2 separate regions of the Homo sapiens genome follow, and region 1 is linked to region 2. Evidence: promoter capture Hi-C in human tissues and cell types (Jung and others, 2019). All regions are on one chromosome and are shown on one strand. Each heading gives the region's core, a stretch centred on a gene start or on the middle of the fragment in contact. The rest is flanking DNA. Distances are from core to core; before and after follow the strand shown.

What was found. The method cuts DNA at HindIII sites, captures the fragments that hold promoters and counts their contacts. A contact is called where the count stands out against the background at its distance.
Region 1: a contact is called between a fragment that was not itself captured here and the fragment with the promoter of CCDC146 in region 2, in 4 of the 25 tissues and cell types used here (adrenal gland, aorta, hippocampus and 1 more).

What each region holds. Positions count from the first base shown.
Region 1 is chr7:77,156,163-77,161,407 of GRCh38, forward strand. The region is part of intron 1 of CCDC146 (coiled-coil domain containing 146); the gene reads left to right. The region is part of intron 1 of LOC124901678 (a long non-coding RNA gene); the gene reads right to left. Among named protein-coding and RNA genes, the nearest start is that of CCDC146, 36 kb to the left of the region's middle. The HindIII fragment of the contact is 7,736 bases long and covers 1-5,245 here.
Region 2 is chr7:77,118,635-77,123,891 of GRCh38, forward strand. CCDC146 (coiled-coil domain containing 146) reads left to right here and starts at 3,981. Exons shown (of 19, transcript NM_020879.3): 1 at 3,981-4,098. It also overlaps the pseudogene FAM185BP. RefSeq lists enhancers at 2,770-3,271, 3,272-3,771 and a silencer at 3,667-3,766. The HindIII fragment of the contact is 9,649 bases long and covers 1-5,162 here.

The DNA of each region.
Region 1 (5,245 bases), core at 509-3,008, 35 kb after region 2:
TGCGTATAATCTAAGAGGTAACTGTTTAACATGTCTGAACATTAACTTTAAAGGCCAGATATGCACTTGAAGCTTTCTTTCAGAGTTTTGCTATTTGTGCGTTTGTGTGGTTTTAATTGAAGGTAGTTCAAACCCCATTGTTACTTTAACACTTCAATTATGAGGCAATTTTTATCTGTACATATTTACTGCAAGAGTTTTCATTTTTCCTTTAAGATTCTTTTTGTTTTTCCTGTAGGACTCTTTTCTTTTCAGGATTCTTTTTTCGAAAGTCCTCTTTATCATTCCTTTTAGGAAAAAAAAAAATGTTGTGATTTGATTTGTTGGGTCTTTGAATAACATTTTTACTTTCTTTTTTAAAAAAAGCATCTCCATAAATATATATACCTACTATGTACCCACAAAAATAAAAATAAATAAAATAAAATATGTATCTATATCTTAAAAAATGTTTCAAGTCTAACATTGTCTTTGTATGGTAAAAATGAGCATTGTATAATTGTACTTAGAATATAAAATCTAGGCAGGAATAACTGCAATCATTTTATCTGTGGCTTTTAGGACTATTAAGTTAGTTCCATCTGATTTTGTTGTTGTTGTTGTCCATTAAATGGATCTGAGGTATGCCTCATGTCAGATTGGCTGCCCAATATTCTGAGCCTGTCATATAGTGGACCGGAGGCCCCATAGGATGAGCCTTAAATTTTATAGACTTTTTATGTTATCTCCAAAAGATAATATACATATAATTACCAGAGATACACTGACAGAATTGAAGGCACTTGTCATACAACTTTATACCACAATTTTTGTAACCCTGTTTTGAAGTTTCTATGTTTTTTAACATGTTAGGAAACTAAAACAAAACAAAACAAAAAAATGGAAGTGTCCCAGAGTTCTCCCTTCCTCCAAGGGGTCAGCTCTGAGTTCCTGTAGAAACATGTTGTAATTAACCTTGTAGAGCAATGGGCTGCTGGGGGAAGGAGCACCCAATCTTATCTTCAGGGCAGTCAGAAGAGCCAAGTCACAAAAAAGAACACTCAGGTTCTGTGTGGGACTAGGAGAGAAATAAATCATGTTCAACTTTACATTACACCCTGCTGTTTCTAAAATGAGCAAAACCTGTGCTTGTTCAATGATGAGTAATATTGAAAGACCGTGTGGTTTTCTGCTACAGCTTTCTTGAAGCATTGCCATTTTATTGTCCAAAAGTCACATTGTTTGTGTATCCTGCCCCATTCTCTGGAGCATGCAGTATTTGGTTTTTACACATGCTCCTTGTAACTATCTAGAAATGTTTCCTTAATAATTCAAAATCAAAACAAAATGATGATCACCTATGTTTCATTTGAAGAAGAGGAATTACTGATGTGTATTACAAAACAAGGGGTACCCTGCAATGTTTATTGCTTAATTATTCTTTGTGAAGCTTCCTATTTTGGCTTATTCATGTCTTCTGCTTTCTTAAAATCCCCTTAAGGCCACATCCTCTTCTCTTCAGACTCCTACAGCATCTCATGGTACTGCCTTGCCTCCTTCCAGTGGGGGCTGCTTCTCTGCAGAACTTGCTATGCCAGTGGTGCTCCCTGTAAGTGTGCAGTGTGTGGCCACCCTGTTTCTGTGGTCCAAGTTATCATAGCACCAATTTCAGTTAAAACGTTTAGAATTTTATGTCTGTGATTTTTTGATTAACTTGTCTTGCTGCCAGTCTCTGCGTCCCCTAAGGTCAGGAACCTTGTCTGGTCTTGCTCACCATGGTACCTATCTCCTACCCATAGCACAGTGGCTGGGTCCCAGCCTCCAGATTGTTTCCTTGCCTCTAAATTCACACATTTTCCAAGCCATTCTTCTCAGCAATATTGTCAGCAATATCTTTACAACTCTGCCATGGCTCCCAATGCCTAGAGTTCAAGTCCCAAATTCCAGGCTACCAGTTACTTTTTCAGCCCTATCTACTCTCCTAAGAACGTTGCTTTTTATTTGGGCTTATTTTACCTCAGCTTATGTGACAGAGAACTAGTTCTTTCCCTGCCTTACTTTCTCTTCAGATTATACATTGTTTGCATATTTGTAAATTCTTTATAGGAAAACTCAATAAATATTTATTTAATTGATTTAGGCATTCTGGAGATATAAGTCTCTAGAATTACCATACCTGATGGCTATGTAGTTCTTCCTATGCCAGGAATTTAAGGTGTTATATTAAACATTCTCTGTTCATATCACCGTAGCCTGAGAATATACTTTATTCTATTATTTTATTTACAGCTGTCAATCATATTGCCTGCAATATGGAACTATTAATACAATGGGCTTTGCAATCCTATATATTAACTGTCTTTGGATATTTATTGTTTTTTTTTGTTTTTTGTTTTGAGACAGAGTTTCACTCTGTTGCCCAGGCTGGAGTGCAGTGGCGCTATCTCGGCTCACTGCAACCTCTGCCTTCCAGGTTCAAACGATTCTCCTGCCTCAGCCTCCTGAGTAGCTGGGATTACAGGCGCCCACCACCATGCCCGGCTAATTTTTGTATTTTTAGTAGAGACGGGGTTTCACCATGTTGGCCAGGCTGGTCTCTAACTTCTGACCTCGTGATCCGCCCACCTCCACACCACAAAGTACTGGGATTACAGGCGTAAACCACTGCGCCCAGCCAGATATTTGTTTTATCCATTAAACTTTGTTATCTGGTTAAGTCCTTTCCTGCCTATTTAATTAGATTAATTAGTGTTTTTTTGTTTTAATTCACACAGACTTTTTTATATTTGCCTCTGTTGGGTTTTCTTTCACTACTCATTCTCCCTGTCTTTCCTTTTTTAAAAAAACACGTTATTGAGGTATGGTTGATGTATAAAATACTGTACATATTTAATGTATACATCTCAATGAGTTTGGGGATAAGTATACATCCATGAAACCACCAACCATCATCAATCTCATAAACATATCTATCACCATCCAAAGTTTTATCCACCCCCTGTATTATTATTTTTGTTGCTGCTTTATCATAAGATCTAATCTCTTAGTAATTTTAAGTATACAATAGGGTATTGTTAGCTACAGGCACTATGCTGTCTAGTAGATCTTCAAAACTTATTTATCTTGCATAGCTGAAATTTTGTACTCTTTAACTATTACTCCCCAGTTTCTCCTACCCCAAGTCCCTGGCAACCACCATCCCACTCTGCTTCTATGAGTTTGACTGCTTTAAGTTCCATATATAAGTGAGATCATATAGTATTTGTATTTCTCTGTCTGCCTAAATATTTCATTTTCTATCCATGATGTTGCAAATGGCAGAATTTCCTTTCCTGTGGCTGTAAAATGTTCCATTGTATACATATATCGCAATTTCTTTGTCCATTCATATGTCCATGGAAATTTATGTTGTTTCCATATCTTGGCTTTTGTAAATAGTGATGAAATGAACGTGGGAGTGCCAATATCGCTTCGAGATCCTGATTTCGATTCATTTGGATATATAACCAGAAGAATTGCTGGATAATAAGGAAGGTTTATTTTTTACTTTTTGAGGAAACTTCATACTGTTTTCTATAATGGTTTACCAACTTACCTTCCCACTAACAGTGTACAAGGGTTCCTTTTTCTTCACATTCTTATCAACAATTACTATCTTTTGTTGCCATTGCTTTTGGTGTTTTAGACATGAAGTCCTTGCCCATGCCTATGTCCTGAATGGTAATGCCTAGGTTTTCTTCTAGGGTTTTTATGGTCTTAGGTCTAACGTTTAAGTCTTTAATCCATCTTGAATTAATTTTTGTATAAGGTGTAAGGAAGGGATCCAGTTTCAGCTTTCTACATATGGCTAGCCAGTTTTCACAGCACCATTTTTTAAATAGGGAATCCTTTCCCCATTGCTTGTTTTTCTCAGGTTTGTCAAAGATCAGATAGTTGTAGATATGCGACGCTATTTCTGAGGGCTCTATTCTGTTCCATTGATCTATATCTCTGTTTTGGTACAAGTACCATGCTGTTTTGGTTACTGTAGCCTTGTAGTATAGTTTGAAGTCAGGTAGCGTGATGCCTCCAGCTTTGTTCTTTGGGCTTAGGATTGACTTGGCGATGTGGGCTCTTTTTTGGTTCCATATGAACTTTAAAGTAGTTTTTTCCAATTCTGTGAAGAAAGTAATTGGTAGCTTGATGGGGATGGCATTGAATCTATAAATTACCTTGGGCAGTATGGCCATTTTCATGATATTGATTCTTTCTACCCATGAGCATGGAATGTTCTTCCATTTGTTTGTATCCTCTTTTATTTCCTTGAGCAGTGGTTTGTAGTTCTCCTTGAAGAGGTCCTTCACGTCCCTTGTAAGTTGGATTCCTAGGTATTTTATTCTCTTTGAAGCAATTGTGAATGGGAGTTCACTCATGATTTGGCTCTCTGTTTGTCTATTATTGGTGTATAGGAATGCTTGTGATTTTTGCACATTGATTTTGTATCCTGAGACTTTGCTGAAGTTGCTTATCAGTTTAAGGAGATTTTGGGCTGAGACCATGGGGTTTTCTAGATATACAATCATGTCATCTGCAAACAGGGACAATTTGACTTCCTCTTTTCCTAATTGAATACCCTTTATTTCCTTCTCCTGCCTAATTGCCAATGGGATCTAATTAAACTAAAGAGCTTCTGCACAGCAAAAGAAACTACCATCAGAGTGAACAGGAAACCTACAAAATGGGAGAAAATTTTTGCAACCTACTCATCTGACAAAGGGCTAATATCCAGAATCTACAATGAACTCAAACAAATTTACAAGAAAAAAACAAACAACCCCATCAAAAAGTGGGCGAAGGACATGAACAGACACTTCACAAAAGAAGACATTTATGCAGCCAAAAAACACATGAAAAAATGCTCTCCATCACTGGCTATCAGAGAAGTGCAAATCAAAACCACAATGAGATACCATCTCACACCAGTTAGAATGGCAATCATTAAAAAGTCAGGAAACAACAGGTGCTGGAGAGGATGTGTAGAAATAGGAACACTTTTACACTGTTGGTGGGACTGTAAACTAGTTCAACCATTGTGGAAGTCAGTGTGGTGATTCCTCAAGGATCTAGAACTAGAAATACCATTTGACCCAGCCATCCCATTACTGGGTATATACCCAAAGGACTATAAATCATGCTGCTATAAAGACACACGCACACGTATGTTTATTGTGGCATTATTCACAATAACAAAGACTTGGAACCAACCCAAATGTCCAACAATGATAGA
Region 2 (5,257 bases), core at 2,731-5,230:
TGAGCCCAAGGCAGGAGGATCACTTGAGCCCATGAGTTCAAGACCAGCCTGGCGCAATACAGTGAGACCCTGTCTCTACAAAGAAAACACTAAAAAAAAAAAAAATTAATTACAGCCGGGCGCAGTGGCTCATGCCTGTAATCCTAGCACTTTGGGAGGCCAAGGCAGGCGGATCACGAGGTCAGGAGATCGAGACCAGCCTGGCCAACATGGTGAAACCCTGTCTCTACTAAATATACAAACATTAACTGAGTGTGGTGGTGCATGCCTGTAATCCCAGCTACTTGGGAGGCTGAGGCAGGAGAATTGCTTGTACCAGGGAGTCAGAGGTTGCAGTGAGCTGAGATTGCACCACTGCACTCCAGCCTGGTGACAGAGTAAGACTCCGTCTCAAAAAAAAAAAAAAATTTAATTACAAAACAAGATGAATCATATGTTACTTTGCACAAATAACTACTTAATCCTTAAGTAATGAGCTAGCTACCTGGTACATTAAAAATGTGATTAAAGTCATCTAATATTTAAGCACATTTATAGTGCACAAAGATTCTTCCTTACTCTTTAATAAAATGGAAGAAAATCATTTGTGGAAACTAAAATTTCTTTAGTAAGATTTCAGAATACTAGGAAAATACTATTAGTTTCACTGTACACTTTGAAATTAAATCAAAAAGAAATTTGAGGCAAAACCTCAAAACTGCTATAACCTCTGTACTTTACTAGAACTGATTTCAAGGCAAAATGTTTGCCAAGGACTTTCTGAGAGATGAATAAATGACAATGTTCTGAAAAACAGAAGAATCTCTTGAGTTTGATAGTACGATTCATAGCTTAAGGCTTTTAAAAAAATAATAGTGAAATAAAATTAGAAAAATGCTATACCTTAACAGACTGCAAGATGCTAGTCCCATGCTCTGTTTCAATTTTGCAATTATCACCCTCAATACTTTGAACTTCTACACAGCCAGACCCTGATGACTTGATATCTAAACCTAGAAGTAAAAAAAGAAAAAAGCAAGTTAGTACTGCAGTTTATAAGCTCCAAAGCATTTTAACCTAGAAACCCAACTCCTCAGTTATGTCCATAATATTGCTGAATCCTGGAAAGTGCATACTGTAAAGGTAAGGGGTCTTCTACCACGGCAACGGGACCAAATACAATAGCCTTTCTGCCCGTTTTTAGAAACAGAGCAGTTATTTCTACTGGCCTAAATCACCTAAAGAGAACTAACATAGATGGGAAGTAAAGGAGACTACGATTCTGTTAAGTACTCCTGTGAAAGACTGTAGAAGCCTCTTCCCCAGTATATATGATCATGACTTAGGTTTTCAAATCCTATGTCTAACCTTTCATACTTAAAAAATGAAAATATTACCATGCAACTATATCACAAGGTATTTGAAGTAATTTTTTAAAAATGGGAACAACTTTGAAAAACCTAATATATACTATTAAAACTACAAGATTAGGCCATGAGCCGTGGCTCATGCCTGTAATACCAGCACTTTGGGAGGCCGAGGAAGGAGGATTGCTTGAAGCCCAGGAGTTCAAGACCAGCCTGGACAATGTGGCAAAACTCCCTTTCTACAAAAAAACAAAAACATTAGCCAGGCATGGTAGCATGCACCTGTAGTCCCAGCTACTCAGGAGGCGGAGGCGAGAAGATTGCTTAAAACCGTGAAGTCAAGACTGCAGTGGGCCATGATTGTGCACCTGTACTCCAGCCTGCATGGCAGAGTGAGTGAGATGCAGTCTCAAAAAAAACCAAAACAAACAAACAAAAAACCCCACAAGATTGTGGACAAATGGCAGTGGTACATGAAGCAAGTTTGGAAAATAAGGAATTACAAATGCCATCCTTGGCTGTCTATTTAAGATGTAACTGCAGGCATCGCTGTATACAAATTTTAAAAATTAAAAACGCTGATATTTAATTTGGAATTAACATAAATATTGATGATTTCTCTTAAAGTAGGCAAGACCCGCCCCCCCGACTTGATTCCTGAAACCACAAATAGTACCAAATCCTATATATTCTATGTTTTTTCCTGTATACATATCAATGATCAAGTTTAATTTATAAACTAGGCATAGTAAGAGATGAACAACAATAATAATAAATACAGCAATTATAACAATATACTGTAATAAAAGTTATATTACTGTGATCTGTCAAAATATCTTAATATTTTCCTACAACAGTTGAGGCAGGTAACAAACTCAGACAGCCAAACGGTGGATAAGGGAGGACTACGGCATCTACTATTTGGGCAACTGTAAGCATTATAAAAGATGATCTTAAAAATGCTAAATGCTATTATTATTACCATCATCATCATCATCAATATCTTCCTTCAGTCCCAGGAAGAATGACAGTCTGGGGAGCCCTTCCTAGAAAAGTGTGTGTACACAGTGGCTTGCCATTTAGGAAAACCTAAGAAAGGTATCTTGCAGGCATTATTATTGAAGCTTCCTAGGCAGGCTTACCATGTGTTTTTCTTCAAAGCTTGCTACTCATGGAAAACTTAGGCCAAAAAGAATGGAAACATAACAGTAAGAAGCTGGGCGCCCGTCTAAAACCAAATACTCAAACCAGGTGGTACCTGGAACATCCTATTGACAGGGCTGTTTTGGGACACACCCCCAGGCTGTGAGCAAGGGGAAATGTAGATGGACTGCCATACCATTGAATGAATTGTCAAGAAACTTCAACCTTGAAAAATAAGCCAGTTTGCTAATGACAACGGGATAAAGAAGAACACAAGCGGCTCCAGAAATAGAATTTGACCTGGATTATACCAAATCGTGTTTCCATTCGATGTATAAAATTTCTATAATTGGGAACCTAATTTTTTAAATACTACTCGGATACTCAAGAATAGAACAGAGGAAAAGTTGCATTTCCGAAGGGGCCAACTGTAAATTAGGTTTAGAAAGCCAGGACCAATTAAAAGTGCACGTCGACCAAATTTATTAAGTTCACTGTGCGTTCCCTGGGACCCAAACCCGTTTTCACTTCACTTCACTTGCCAAACTTCAGGGGCGCGTTCACCTCCACGGACGCCTGGGGGTGGATAGTATCAGACACAATGGCCATCTCCTCCAGATCCTCGTCGTACTTCACCTGCAGGCCGTCCAGGCCCCGCACGCCGCCCTCCACGCCGCACACCGCGACCAGCACGCGGTCGCCATCCGGGTAGGTGAGGGGGTCCAGGGGCCTCACGGCCAGGTGGCACGGGAGCCGCGCCCGCAGCCGACCGAACGGGCTCACCTGCAGTGTCCACTCCTTCAGAGTTCGGCGCGCCGGGCCAGGCGGAGGGACCTCAGTCTCCGATCCGGGCCAGCGCTCGCCCCTACCTGAGCTGTACGGCCTGGCTTGGCAAGCCCAGCAAGACCAGCGCCCAGCGCCAGCCCACAGTCGGACCTGACGGAGACAGAGACGGAAGCAGCCAAGCTCCCAACCTGAACAGGGGGCAAGCATGGCGCGCCTCTCTCGCCAGTCCTCAGAACACTTCAGCCACAGGGAGGGTCACTTGCCACGGCCAATCGACTTGGCCACTGTGCCGCCTCAAGTCAAATAGGAGACGTAAGTCAGGGTTTGCTGAAACAAGAGCGAGCCGGTTGGCTTGACTAGGCGATGTAAACATCAGCTGCGTAATCCCCAGGGGCAAGTTGGGATTTGAAAGCTCTGAACTCTGACCTGGACCCCTTGCCTAAGTCCACCCCCTTTCGCTAAGGCCGACGGGATACGTAGTTCTAAAGCGGTGGAAAGTCGCAGAGCTCCGCCTCTTAGAAACCACATATCCCAGGAGGCAATGCGCAGGGGAGCACGGGTAAGAGGGCAGGTGTTAGAATCGCTGGAAAGGCGGGCGCCCTTTGTTTCAAGACCATTGGCTATTGGAGGGGCGGTACATGGGAGGCCACTGGCCAATGGGAAGCACGGAAGGGGGCAACGAGGGTAAAGCTGCATGGTCACCTTGGATACCAAGGACGCGACTTCTTGTTTGGAGAGGGTGGAGCTTTGGAGTGAGACCCAGGAGGCCAAATCCCAAAGAGAAAAATAGGAGCCTAAATAAGGATCAGGACCAAGGGAAGGGGTAAGAAACTGCGCTTTTTAAGTTGACAACTAGGTGCAAACTAGGAGTAACCTATGTGGATGTCAAGATCCAAGCTTCACTAACCTAGTGCGGGCATCTCCAGGGCATGGAGAATGCCTTGGTAAGAGAGTAAAGAGCAAGATTGGTGCTTTTTGAGGGAATTGCCTCTTTGGAAGTGTATTCCCTCCTATATTCCAAATATAGGAATAGAGTACTTGCTCCGTCCTGACCCTAAGTGACCTTACTTTGGGTTTTAATTTGCTCACTTTAAAAATGTAGATGATAATACCTTCCTTGCCTTGCCTCAAAGGGTTTTTGTGAGGATCAAGTAAGAAAATGGATGGGACCGTGGTGCACAGTCTACCAAATTACCGTGTAAAGTACTGTATTTTTATTTCAACGTACTTAACATTGATTCTGAGTTACCAAGAAAATTATGAGAGATCAGAACTTGTTTTGAGAATAGCATTGATCTCTTTGACTACAAATGATCATCAGTTTTAGAGTGAAAAAAAAAAAGACACAAAAAAGAGAGTCACCATGGTGCGGTGGAAAGAGCAGGGACAAGGGTCAGATTATTTTCCTGGCTCTGCCACTGCTTCATCTGTGTCACCTAGACCTGTTTCTTTAGTTTTAAAATGAAGAAAGATGGTTCTAAATGACCCTATAAGGTGTGTGTGTGTGTGTGTGTGTGTGTGTGTGTGTGTGTGTGTGTGTGTGTGTGTTTACCTTTTATAATTCTATGGGCAGTAAAATAATGGGAACAGAAAGATTTATTTTCTTCTTTTTTTCTTCTTTCCTGCCTGGTTTCTCTCTCCCCCTCTGTGCCCCTACTTCCTCCTAAAATGTATTCCCTAAATTATTTAGCCAAGACACCTGCAAACACTAACATTTCATAAAATGCAAGTGCCTTAAAAAATTGAAGCCCTTACCCAAGTACAATGACCAGAATTCTTGGGGCTATCGTGATAGATAGACTGGGCTAAAGTTCTCATGGGTACAAGTCTCAGGTTCTCTGCTAGCCACTACCTTTTTAAAATTTTTAAAAATTCAGTGTTCTCTTAAGTTATCATTGCCTCTTTTCTGTCCTTCTAGTCCTTGCTCCCTCCTTATTCTTCTTTCGGTGAAGACTCACTCATTATAGGTGCTAGCTCAGGTT